Regions from separate parts of the Homo sapiens genome. Here region 1 is linked to region 2. Evidence: promoter capture Hi-C in 16 types of primary human blood cells and fetal thymus (Javierre and others, 2016). All regions are on one chromosome and are shown on one strand. The core of a region is centred on a gene start or on the middle of the fragment in contact, and the rest is flanking DNA. Distances in the headings are between cores, read along the strand shown.

Region 1 (6,445 bases), core at 2,512-5,011, about 19 Mb before region 2:
CTTCTGTACTGAACAACTGTGATTTTCTTGTCATTATTCCCTAAACAATACAGTGTAACAGCTATTTACACTGTGTTAGGTATTGCAAGTAATCTAGAGATGACAACATACAGGAGGATATGCACAGGTTATATGCAAATACTTAACCATTTTATATCAGGGACTTCAGCAACCTTGGATTTTGGTATTCATGGGAGGTCCTAAAACCAATCCCCCACAAATACCAAGGGACAACTATATTTGCCTTAGAGTAGAAAAGAAATCAGCAGCATCTTACACATCATCTTATATGCGGAATATTTTAACTATTCAATTCCCATCCCTACCGTCATTTCCTTCCATTTTCTACCGATATGAGACTTATCCTTCAGGATATATAGCTCATTGTCACTATTTTAAAGCCTTTCAACATTTCTTTGAAGAAAATCAGCATGGAGCACAGACTTTTATATGACTGGACCCCTTCCTACATCAGTATCATCTCTAAACCTCATACTCTACACACCAAGCATACTTAACTCTCTCTGGCGCACGTATTTTCATACCAGTTCCTGTGCTTGCAACTACCAAGTCTCCCTACATCTCACACTCTTCCTTGCCTCCTGTCCAGAAAGAGTCCGTTCCCTAATTGTTGTCCCTTTATCATATCACTAATATTTTATCAATGTGACTTCACACCTGTGTCTCCACATTTATGACTAACTCAGTGCCCAATAGATGTTTACTAAAAAAGTTCTCTCTGGCCCAGTGCGGTGGCTCACGCCTGTAATCCCAGCACTTTGGGAGGCTGAGGTGGATCACTTGAGGTCAGGAGTTTGAGACCAGCCTGGCCAACATGGCGAAACCCTGACTGTACTAAAAATAAAAAAATTAGCCGGGCGTGGTGGCAGGTGCTTGTAATCCCTGCTACTCAGGAGGTTGAGGCAGGAGAATAGCTTGAACCCGGGAGGCAGAGGTTGCAGTGACCTGAGATCGTGCCACTGCATTCCAGCCTGGGCGACAGAGCGAGACTCCATCTCAAAACAAAACAAAACAAACAAAAAAAAAGTTATGAAAAAAAGTTATCTCTACTATTCTTACTCCCTTAAAAAGAGTAGAGAAGTTAACTGATGAACTCAGAGCTCAGTTGAAAGGTATTTTACATGGTCTGAAAACAAAGTGTTTCATAATGTAATTTAACTGAGAAGCTTAAGAATGACTAATGTCAGCCTGGGCAGCATGGTGAGACCCCGTCTCTACAAAAAAAAATTTTGTTAATTAGCCAGGCATGGTGGCCCATGCCTGTGGTCCCAGCTACTTGGGAGGCTGAGGTAGGAGCATCGCTTGAGCCAGGTCAAAGCTGCAGTCAGCCATGATGGCACCACTGCACTCCAGCTCAGGTGACAGTAACTGTCTCAAAAAGTAAAAACAAAACCCTAATGTAATATTACCAATAGAATAAAACTCAAGTTTTCTTTAATATCTTAGTAATTAAATATGACTGATGATAAACAACTCAAAGGTAGGACTACAGCTGAGCACTCAGATGTTAGTATATGTATTATTTTGACCAAACATGTTTGACTGTTTTAAGTCATAAGCCAAACATGTCTTTTCATTTTAGAAAAATCTAGTCACAAGTCTTCTCTGTGAAGCCAAATTTGAATATTTATACCTATTCCAGGTCTTTATGCAGCTGAATCTCCACTTTACCCCACAATAAAATATCAGCACTTCAACAGAAAGAGAAACCGTGCCTAATGGGAATTGTGAGACGTAATTTTTAAAATTACCTAAGAATATCAGGGACTAACACCGAGAGCTTATTATAATCAGATTAAAGTCATTGTTATCAGTTCCTTGTTTTATAATCACTTCAGATCTATATAGTCCTTTTCACTATTGAAACCTTTTTTTTTTTTTTTTTTTTTTTTTTAAAGAGGCAGAGTCTCTATTGCGCCAGCTAGAGTACAGTGGTATGGCCACAGCTCATTCCAGCCTTCAACTCCTGGGCTCAAATGATCCTCTCAAGCAGCTCCTAAGTAGCTGTGACTACAGGCATGTGATACTGCACCTGGCTAAATTTTAAATTTTTTTTGTAGAGATAGGTTCTCACTGCGTTGGCCAGGCTGGTCTCATACTCCTGGGCGCGAGGGATCCTCCCACCTCAACCTCCCAAAGTACTGGGATTACAGGCTTGAGCCATGGCACCCAGCCTCAAGTAGTTTCTATGTACACTGTTTTATTTAATCATTGCCCTAATACTTATCGACGAGTTTCTATTTTTAAGTATGTAAAAGGCTAAGATGCTGGGGAACATAATAAATATCTATAGTACAGATCTGCCTTTTGAATAATTCACAAAATTTCTTACCTGCAGCCAAAAGGTCTAACAGCACTGTAGAGTGTATATGCATGCACATACATGGCCACTCTGTCTGCAAGATGCTATGGAGGGAAGCAGAAGAGCTTATTAATAAACTTCTATTACTGTCCAAAAGGTTCCTCAATATGTTATCAACTTACTTTTAGTGGAATGTTGTAGCCAAAGTTAGATCTGAAGTTGGAAGCTTCTTCTCTTGCTATGTCTGCTAAAGAACGAGCATCTGCCAACAAACCTGCTACTGCCTGAAAAAAAAGCACCAATTTACTAGAGGAACACATTCCTATCACAAATCAAAGTCTGCAATTAATAAAGACTTATTAAACATTTTTTTAACAAGTATTACCATTCAAAATAAACTTTTTTGGCTTAAAGGTCTCTCTACAAGGCATTTTGATGCTTGAGTATGAAATTATAATTTAGAAATTTAGTAAGTATAACTTCATTGCTTTGTCCAATGTTCATATTCAGGACATTTCCTTTTTTTTTTTTGATACGGGGTCTCGCTCTGTCACCAGGGCTGGAGTACAGTGGCATGATCTCCGCTCACTTCACACTCTGCCTCCTGGGTTCATGCCATTCTCCTGCCTCAGCCTCCTGAGTAGCTGGGACTACAGGCGCCTGCCACCACGCCCGGCTAATTTTTTTGTATTTTTAGTAGAGATGGGGTTTCACCATGTCAGCCAGGACGGTCTTGATCTCCTGACCTCGTGATCTGCCTGCCTCAGCCTCCTAAAGTGCTGGGATTACAGGCGTGAGCCACCGTGCCCGGCCAATATTCAGGACTACTTCTATCATAAATCCTCTTCCCCTGATTTACTACCACTACCTCATTATAACGAATAAAAACCATGGGTCTTGGTCAGATTTTTTTTTTTTTTTTTTTTTGAGACAGAGTCTCACTGTGTCACCTAGGCTGGAGCACAATGGCACCATCTGGGCTCACTTCAACCTTTGCCTCTCAGGTTCAAGGGATTCTCCTGCCTCAGCCTCCCCAGTAGCTGGGATTGGCTAATTTTTATATTTTTAGTAGAGACAGGGTTTGGTTTTGTCATGTTGGCCAGGCTGGTCTTGAACTCCTGACCTCAGGTGATCAGCCTGCCTCAGCCTCCCAAAATGTTGGGATTATGGGTGTGAGCCGCCGTGCCCGGCCCAAATTTGTTCTTTTCTCTAAAGTTATTACAGGTTGAGGATATCTAATCCAAAAATCTGAAATTTAAAACGCTTCAGAATCTGAAACTTTTTGAGTGCCAACATGACACTCAAAGGAAATGCTCAGGCCGGACCTGGTGGCTCACACCTGTAATCCCAGCACTTTGGGAGGCTGAGGCAGGTGGATCACAAGGTCACGAGTTCAAGACCAGCCTGGCCAAGATGGTGAAATGCCGTCTCTACTAAAAATACAAAAATTAGCCAGGCGTGGTTGCAGGCACCTGTAATCCCAGTTACTTGGGAGGCCGAGGCAGAGAATTGCTTGAACCTGGGAGGCGGAAGTTGCAGTGAGCCGAGATCGCGCCACTGCACTCCATCCTGGGCAACAGAGCGAGACTCCATCTCAAAAAAAAAAAAAAAAGGAAATGCTCAGTAGAGCTTTTTGGATTTTGAATTTTCAGATTAAGGATGCTCAGCTGATGAGTATATAATGCAGATATTCCAAAATCGAAAAATATCCGATATACTGCTGGTCCCAAGCATTTTAGACGAGAGATACTCAACCTGTAACTGTTTTGTTCTAAAAGGCACAATCGCAAATCTTTTTTCAGCCTATTGGCTGAATAAACTACAATGATAAACCATTCCTCTTTCAAGATTTGCGGCTTAGAACTGCAGTTACTAGGCCGGGCACGGTGGCTCATGCCTGTGATCCCAGCACTTTGGGAGGCCGAGGCAGGGGGATCACCTGAGGTCAGGAGTTTGAAACCAGCCTGGACAACATGGTGAAACCCCTACTAAAAATACAAAAATTAGTCAGGTTTGGTGGCGGGCACCTATAATCCTACCTACTCCCAAGGCTGAGCCACAAGAATCACTTGAACTCGGGAGGCGGAGGCTGCAGTGAGCCGAGATCACGCCACTACACTCCAGCCTGAGCAACAGAATGAGACTTTGTCTCAAAACAAAAACAAAAACAAAAACAGAATTGCAGTTACTATGTATGTGCCGAGAGGTCCTCAGGCACTGCAGTGAAATCACATGTTAGTGTGGCATATCTTTTTTTTTGAGATGGAGTTTTGCTCTTGTTGCCCAGGCTAGAGCACAGTGGTGCAATCGCGGCTCACCGCAACCTCCACCTCCCAGGTTCAAGGGATTCTCCTGCCTCAGCCTCCCGAGTAGCTGGGAGTACAGGCATGCGCCACCACGCCCGGCTAATTTTTGTGTTTTTAGTAGAGACAGGGTTTCTCCATGTTGGTCAGGCTGGTCTTGAACTTTCGACCTCAGGTGATCCGCCCGCCTTGGCCTCCGAAAGTGCTGGGATTACAGGTGTGAGCCACTGCACCTGGCCTAGTGTGGCACATTCTAAGTTTGGAGAAAAATGTCCAAGTAGTTCCGTTTGAACATTAGATCGTTTTACTACATTCCTTTCAATGCCACCACATCTTTGAGAAGCTTGGCTGTTAGTGGTTGCTGTGAAAAAAAGTAAGTACTGTGCAAAAATCAGTGTGGAACAGGAAATGACAGTGGCCACATCCAAATTTGGGAGGTTGTGCAGTGTATATACTAGAAATTTTGGTTGCTTAAAATAAAACATTTTAATTTTTAAATAAAAATATTTTTCACTATGTGTGTATTTAAAAAAAAAAAACGGCTACTAAGTTTTTAGGATGTAAACACTAAGTTCTTTGGATCTAAATACTTAATAAATGAAACCATTAGGTATTTTCGGCCTAGGGAAGCCATGAGAAAAACTACTGAGACACTTAAGGTACCATAAACCAACCAAGTTTTTGAAACCCTCTAGCCCAGGACAGTTACAGAATTTAAAAGTGGTATCACAATCTTTAATAGCCTTTTTTTCCTACGCTACCCAGTAATAGTAATAATGATAATTACTAAGAGATACTGAGCACTCATTACATGTTAAGCATTTTGCATAATAATTTTTAACCTCACAACAACTGTATGTGCCAAGTACTATTATCACTCTTGTTTTGCAGACAAGGAAACGCGTGTTTAGAATAGCTTCCCCAAGGTAACCCATGCCAGTAAGTTACATCACTTAAAGAATCTTCTGTTGCTTTAGAGAAAGCTTACTGTAAAGTCATATAATTCTCAAATCACTTGAAGATGACAACTGTGGAAGGAGGGAGGATATTAAGTCTTAATTTTCTCCAGCCCTCTTCAATGTCTAATGTTGACAGGGCACATTGGCTCATGCCTGTAATCTCAGCAACTCAAGAAGCTGAGGCGGGAGGATCGCTTGAGCCCAGGAGTTCAAGACCAGCCTGAGCAACACAGCAAGATCATATCTCTTAAAAAAACTAAAAAATTAGCCAGGTGTGATGGCACACTTGTAGTCACAGCTATTTGGGAGGCTGAGGCAGAAGAATCACTTGAGCCCAGGAGCGCAAGGCTGCAGTGAGCTATGATCATGCCACTGCACTCAAGCCTGGGCAACAGAGCAAGACCTCTGTGTGTGTGTACATACATATATATATGCATGCATAATTTTTTTCAAAATATTAACTTTTGCTAGTACATAAAAGAATACAAGATCACCTCCTACTAGCTAGGTTACAATGTAGCAAGTTTCATCAAAACATATCAGTTTCACTGGCAATAATAAATCTGTTCAGCATTATTCTTAGCAAACTAATACAAGAAGAGAAAACCAAAAACCACATGTTCTCTCTTATAAGTGGAAGCTAAATGATGAGAATTCATGGATACAAAGACAGGAACAACAGACAATGGGGCCTACTTGAGGGTGGAGGGTGGGAGGAGGAAGAGGATCAGAAAAAATAACTATTGGGTCCTAGGCTTAGTACCTGGGTGACGAGAAAAATCTGTACAACAACAACAACAAAAAAACAGTAAAAAGAAAATGTATATATACACAATGGAATACTATTCATCCTTTAAAAA
Region 2 (5,693 bases), core at 1,450-3,949:
TGGAGTGCAGTGGCGTGATCTCGGCTCACTGCAACCTTTGCCTCCTGGATTCAAGTGATTCTCCTGCCTCAGCCTCCTGAGTAGCTGGGATTACAGGCGCCTGCCACTGCGCCTGGCTAATTTTTGTATTTTTAGTAGAAATGGGGTGTCAACATCTTGGCCAGGCTGGTCTTGAACTCCTAACCTTGTGATCCACCTGCCTCAGCCTCCCAAAGTGCTGGGATTACAGGTGTGAACCGCTGCGCCTGGACTTAAAGTCATTCATCTTAAAGCACATAAAGACAGATGCAACTGAGTTTGTTATGCATCCTAACATCTATTTCATTGTAATAGGGAATTAAAACCTTTGATCAACTGAAAACAAAGGAATGATGAATTTTTTTTTGTTTTTTTTTTGAGATGGAATCTCGGTCTGTCGCCCAGGCTGGAGTGCAGTGGGGCGATCTCTGCTCACTGCAGGCTCCACCTCCTGGGTTCACGCATTTCTCCTGCCTCAGCCTCCCGAGTAGCTGGCTCTACAGGCGCCCGCAACTATGTCTGGCTAATTTTTTGTATTTTTAGTAGAGACAGGGTTTCACCATGTTAGCCAGGATGGTCTTGATCTCCTGACCTCGTGATCTGCCCACCTCGGCCTCCCAAAGTGCTGGGATTACCGGCGTGAGCCACTGTGCCTGGCCAGGAATGATGAGTTTTTGAAAAGACTTCATTGAGCTGGATGGTAAAGATGCCTTTCTGGGAACCATGAAATGAATGAATCTACCAAAGGTACTATGCTTTGATTTATTCCTCGCTGGATTCCAGGATTTCTGTGGATCTTCTCATCAATGTTGCTATGGTCTGAATATTTGTGTCCTACCAAACTCATAGGTTGAAATCTTAACTGCTAAGGTGATGGTATAGGGAGGTAGGGCCTTTGGGAGGTGAACAGGTCATGAGGGCTGGCCTCTCATGAATGGGATTAGTACCCTTGTAAAAGAGACCCCAGAGAGCTAGCCAGCCCCTTCTGCCATGTGAGAACAAAGAAGGCACCATCTATGAATCAGAAAGCAGGTCCTCACCGGACACCAAATCTGCTGGCATCTTGATCCTGGACTTCTCAGCCTCCAGGACAGTCAGAAATAAATTTCTGTTGTTTATGAGCTACCCAGTTGAGGGCATTTGTGTTAGCAGCCTAAATGGACTAAGATCTTTTTATCCTACTCATTCTTAGATCTTGTCGCTTTTGGTGGGTGTACTTATTCCACCTTTATAACAACACCTCTGCTGTGTGCTGTTAAGAATCTTCATTAAGGTAGCACCTTGAACCTACTTTATTTGGAAGCCTACACTAATTTTTGGCTTTCGATTCCCATTGCCCTCTTCAGGATTGTATTACAATTTGACAAGCAAACATCCTCTTCCACCTTCCAAAACAACTTTAGTACACACATTATAGAAAGGGAAATATGTTTGGTGCTTTTTTTTTTGAGACAGTCTCACTCTGTCACCCAGGCTGGAGTGCAATGGCGTGGTCTCGGCTCACTGCAACCTCCGCCTCCCGGGTTCAAGCAATTCTTCTGCCTCATCCTCCCGAGTAGCTGGGACTACAGGAGCGTGCCACCACACCCGGCTAATTTTTGTATTTTTAGTAGAGACGGTGTTTCACTATGTTGGCCAGGCTGGTCTCGAACTCCTTACCTTGTGATCCGCCTGCCTCCGCCTCCCAAAGTGTTGGGATTACAGGCGTGAGCCACCGCGCCCAGCCTGGTGCTGCTGTCTTATTTCTCATGAATATGAGCTTTCAAGGACAGGGACTTGATCTTTTTTTCCATTCCATAAAATGTTGATATGGCTAAACTTTGCAGGCTTTTAGGCGTTGTCATATATGCAATTAATTCCATGGGCACTTAATTTCATTCCCCTCACTGAAGGAAGGGGTTGTCTGAGACCACCAAGCTCTAATGTCTTACCAATCTGTTGCTTTCTCATTTTGTTCAACTTTTTTCTTGGAAAGAAAAACATTGAACATATCAAGATGAATCAGCCAAATATTGTACTGTGTGTGTGTTTTGGGGGTGGGGGGAGACAGAGTTGAAGTGGCAGAGGCAATGTAGGAGGAAAAGACAGGCTGACTAAAATACATAAATAGTACGTGAATTCTTTCGGGCCAGGGATCTGGGCCTACTTTGCCTGCATCATATTACCAGCATCTCAATTGTGTCTGGCACATAGTAAGTTTCAGTAAACATTTGTTGCACTAAGTGAAAGAATGAACTTTTCACTTTTTTCAGAGATGTGATTTGTGATTCTCGGAATCAACCAGGGTCCTAAGATGTCCTGGAGGCCGTCTCCATTTCTCTCGGTGAGCTAAGGTGTCCGAGTGGCACCAGTTCTCCACTCTTTCTGCGACCTGCAGGGAGTGGGATACGCTGTGGCTTTAGGGAGCTGGGAAAGGCGCTCTCTCCCGGTCCCGCTCTGCCCGGTCCCACGCCCCTCGGCCGTCCGGCTGCCTGGGTCTTCCGGGTTCTTCCGCCCCTCTGGCTCGGTCCCCGCTACCTCTCCTCCCTCCTCCCCTCTCGGTACCTTCGCCCGCCGCGCGCCTTTCTCAAATCCTCCGGTTATTAAGCAAGCTCAGGGGTCCGGTGGCCTGCCCTGGTAACTCTGCGCCCGCCCCTTCCTGCCCCCTTCCTGCCCTCACGCCCCGTCCCCTCCTCTTGACGTGGCAGAGGCGGCGCCAGCCATGTTGGCCGGGCGGAGGTCTTCGCTGAGGCCCGGGGCGGGGTGGCGCCACCCCTGATTGCGGTGCCACGGACTGCTCCTGCTGGGCGGAGAGGACAGATTTTGCAAAGCGGAGGCTGCGACGGGTCCTGCAGGGGGACAGTGAGGAAAGGGCCGCCTCGTCTCCGCTCCTGGGGGACCGCAGGTGCGCAGCGGGGAGCGGGGGCGGGCTGGCGGCGGCGGGCTGGGGGCTGGGATCCTGGGGTGGTCCCGGCTCTGCCCTCTCGGTGCCCCGGGGCCAGCGAGGTGTGCTGGAGGCTGAGGCCCGGTCCGGCGCGGGGAGCGTTGAGTGCTGAGCTTGCCACCCTCTCACCCACTTCGCTCTGCCGGGGCCGGGGGCCCGGCCTCCTCCAGCTCCCCTGGATTAGGTGGAAAGATGTGGAAAACGGTGGTTCGAGCATCTCGCCCAGCACCCACCCCCACCTCCTGGGCCACCCACCTCCACCCAAGTCCATCATCGCCTCTGGGCCCTTGGACTTACTGTTTCATTCCTTGCCAGATATGGAGTGTCCTAGACTTTGAACCCAATTGACTACGTCACCGTAATTCAGCCTTGGAAGTTAAAGGGGTTAAAGGGGAAAAGAGCTTGGTAAAGATAATGCCTTGGGTTTTGATTACAAAGAGTTCAGTTTTCCAGCAGGACCAGCCCTATCTCACTGGGCTTTCTTTCTACGGTAGGTAGTGTTTCCCGATTTGGTGGTAAAGGTACTGCCTGAGGAAGGTCATAGTAAATCTACATCAATCACTGAAGTGGGGATGTGGAATTCTCGTTTTCACTTGAACTCCCTCAACCTCTACCGTCCAAAGCCATGGATAACTAGCCAAATTAACTTGGTTTAAAAAGGTTTTAGATTTAAATATAAATGCATGTTGAGTTTTCCTTCTCTTTCTCCTCTGGTAGTGAATGAACATCATTTCAGAAGTCCAGCTATTTTTTTTTTTTCTGAGACGGAGTCTTGCTTTGTCGCCCAGGCTGGAGTGCAGTGGCGCAATCTCGGCTCACTGCAACCTCCGCCTCCCTGGTTCAAGCGATTCTCCTGCTTCAGCCTCCCGAGTAGCTGGGATTACAGGGGCGAGCTACTATGCCCGGCTAATTTTTGTATCTTTAGTAGAGACGGGGTTTCACCATGTTGGCCAGGCTGGTCTCGAACTCCTGACCTCAGGTGATCCGCCCGCCTCGGCCTCCCAAAGTGCTGGGATCACAGGCATGAGCCACTGCGCCCGGCCAGAGTCCAGCTATTTTTAATTGACTTACAGAATTTTAGAGTTAGATGGGACCTTGTGATTTTCTAGTCCAAGTCTCTTATTTTGCTGATGAGAAAAACAGGATTCAGAGAGGTTAATTGTCCAAGATCATAAGAAGACAATTCATTGAGGATTTTGGAAGTGAAAAGTAGGAGACAAATTTAATTGGCAACTAACAAATACATGTAATTGGAAGGAACTCAAATTTACTTGGCAAGTACATTTTCAATTAGATATGAATAAAAGGGCTTAAAATTAGAATATTGAAAAACTATCATAGGGAAAGTCTTTTTTGTTTTTTTTTTTTTTGAGACGGAGTCTCGCTCTGTCACCCAGGCTGGAGTGCAGTGGAACGATTTCGGCTCACTGCAACCTCCGCCTCCCAGGTACAAGCTAAGCTATTCTCCTGTCTCAGCCGCCTGAGTAGCTGGGACTACAGGCGACCGCCACCATGCCTGGCTAATTTTTGTATTTTCAGTAGAGACGGGGTTTAACCATATTGGCCAGGCTGGTCTCGATCTCCTGACCTCATGATCCACCCTCCTCGGCCTCCAAAAGTGCTGGGATTACAGGTGTGAGCCACCGCGCCCGGCCAGGGAAGTCTTACTTTTAAAAGACTTGGGCACATATTTGATATACTAGGTTAAAGTGACATAGTGGTTTGCTTCTTAGCTTTTAGCTCTATTATGATAAATTATTTAACCAAAGTATATTGTACTGAAATTGGACATTTCTTTGTAATAGTCTTTTGTGTTTTGTATCACTTTTTAAAAAAAATAAAGACTAGTGGCTGGGTGCGGCAGTTTACGCCTGTAATCCCAGCACTTTGGGAGGCCGAGGCAGGCCAATCACCTGAGGTCAGGAGTTCGAGACCAGCCTGGCCAACGTGGTGAAACCCCATCTCTACTAAAAATACAAAAATTAGCTGGGTGTAGTAGCTCACGCCTGTAATCCCAGCTACTGGGGAGGCTGAGGCGGGAGAATCGCCTGAACCCGGGAGGTGGAGGTTGCAGTGAGCCGAGATTGCACCACTGCACTCCAACCTGGGTGATAGAGTGAGACTCCATCTCAAAAAAAAAAGAGACTAATATGCTAAGTCTGCATTCTAATATAGTGTGTGGAATAATATTTCTTTGGTTTAATACTTTTATGCAAACATGTTAGTATTAGGGGAGAGAGTGCTTATCAAATAATATCATGTTATGAAAAGCTAGTTTGTGGCTGGGCATGGTGGCTCACACCTGTAATCCCAGCACTTTGGGAGGCTGAGGTGGGTGGATCACCTGAGGTTGGGAGTTCGAGACCAGCCTGACCAACATGGAGAAACCCCATCTCTACTAAAAATACAAAAATTAGCCAGGTGTGGTGGCTTATGCCCGTAATCCCAGCTACTCAGGAGGCTGAGGCGGGAGAATTGCTTGAATCCGGGAGGAGGAGTTTGCGGTGAGCCGAGATCACGCCATTGCACTCCAGCCTGGGCAACGAGCGAAACTCCGTCTCAAAAAAAAAAAAAAAGTTAAGTTGGCTTGTAAAAGGACTTTATTTCAGATATGCCATTGTCGGACATGGGACTAAGCCTGGCAAATTTTGTAATTGAATTCGTGATTTTAAGATTGCATGACTCCTACTATGGAAAGGTGAGGGAAGTCAGGGAAGTGTTGTGCATAGCCATGTAATTGGACCAATTGAGA

The links. The method cuts DNA at HindIII sites, captures the fragments that hold promoters and counts their contacts. A CHiCAGO score of 5 or more calls a contact.
Region 1: a fragment that was not itself captured here is called in contact with the fragment with the promoter of SEC23A in region 2 in 1 of 17 cell types (monocytes); the score reaches 8.6 in monocytes.

The regions. Positions count from the first base shown.
Region 1 is chr14:58,253,907-58,260,351 of GRCh38, reverse strand. PSMA3 (proteasome 20S subunit alpha 3) reads right to left here. Exons shown (of 11, transcript NM_002788.4): 4 at 2,506-2,607; 5 at 2,354-2,427. Among named protein-coding and RNA genes, the nearest start is that of PSMA3, 12 kb to the right of the region's middle. The HindIII fragment of the contact is 2,420 bases long and covers 2,552-4,971 here.
Region 2 is chr14:39,100,241-39,105,933 of GRCh38, reverse strand. SEC23A (SEC23 homolog A, COPII component) reads left to right here and starts at 2,699. Exons shown (of 20, transcript NM_006364.4): 1 at 2,699-2,902. SEC23A-AS1 (SEC23A antisense RNA 1) reads right to left here and starts at 2,794. Exons shown (of 2, transcript NR_146545.1): 1 at 2,563-2,794; 2 at 2,122-2,389. RefSeq lists silencers at 2,484-2,713, 2,874-2,993, 3,014-3,093. The HindIII fragment of the contact is 19,881 bases long and covers 1-5,693 here.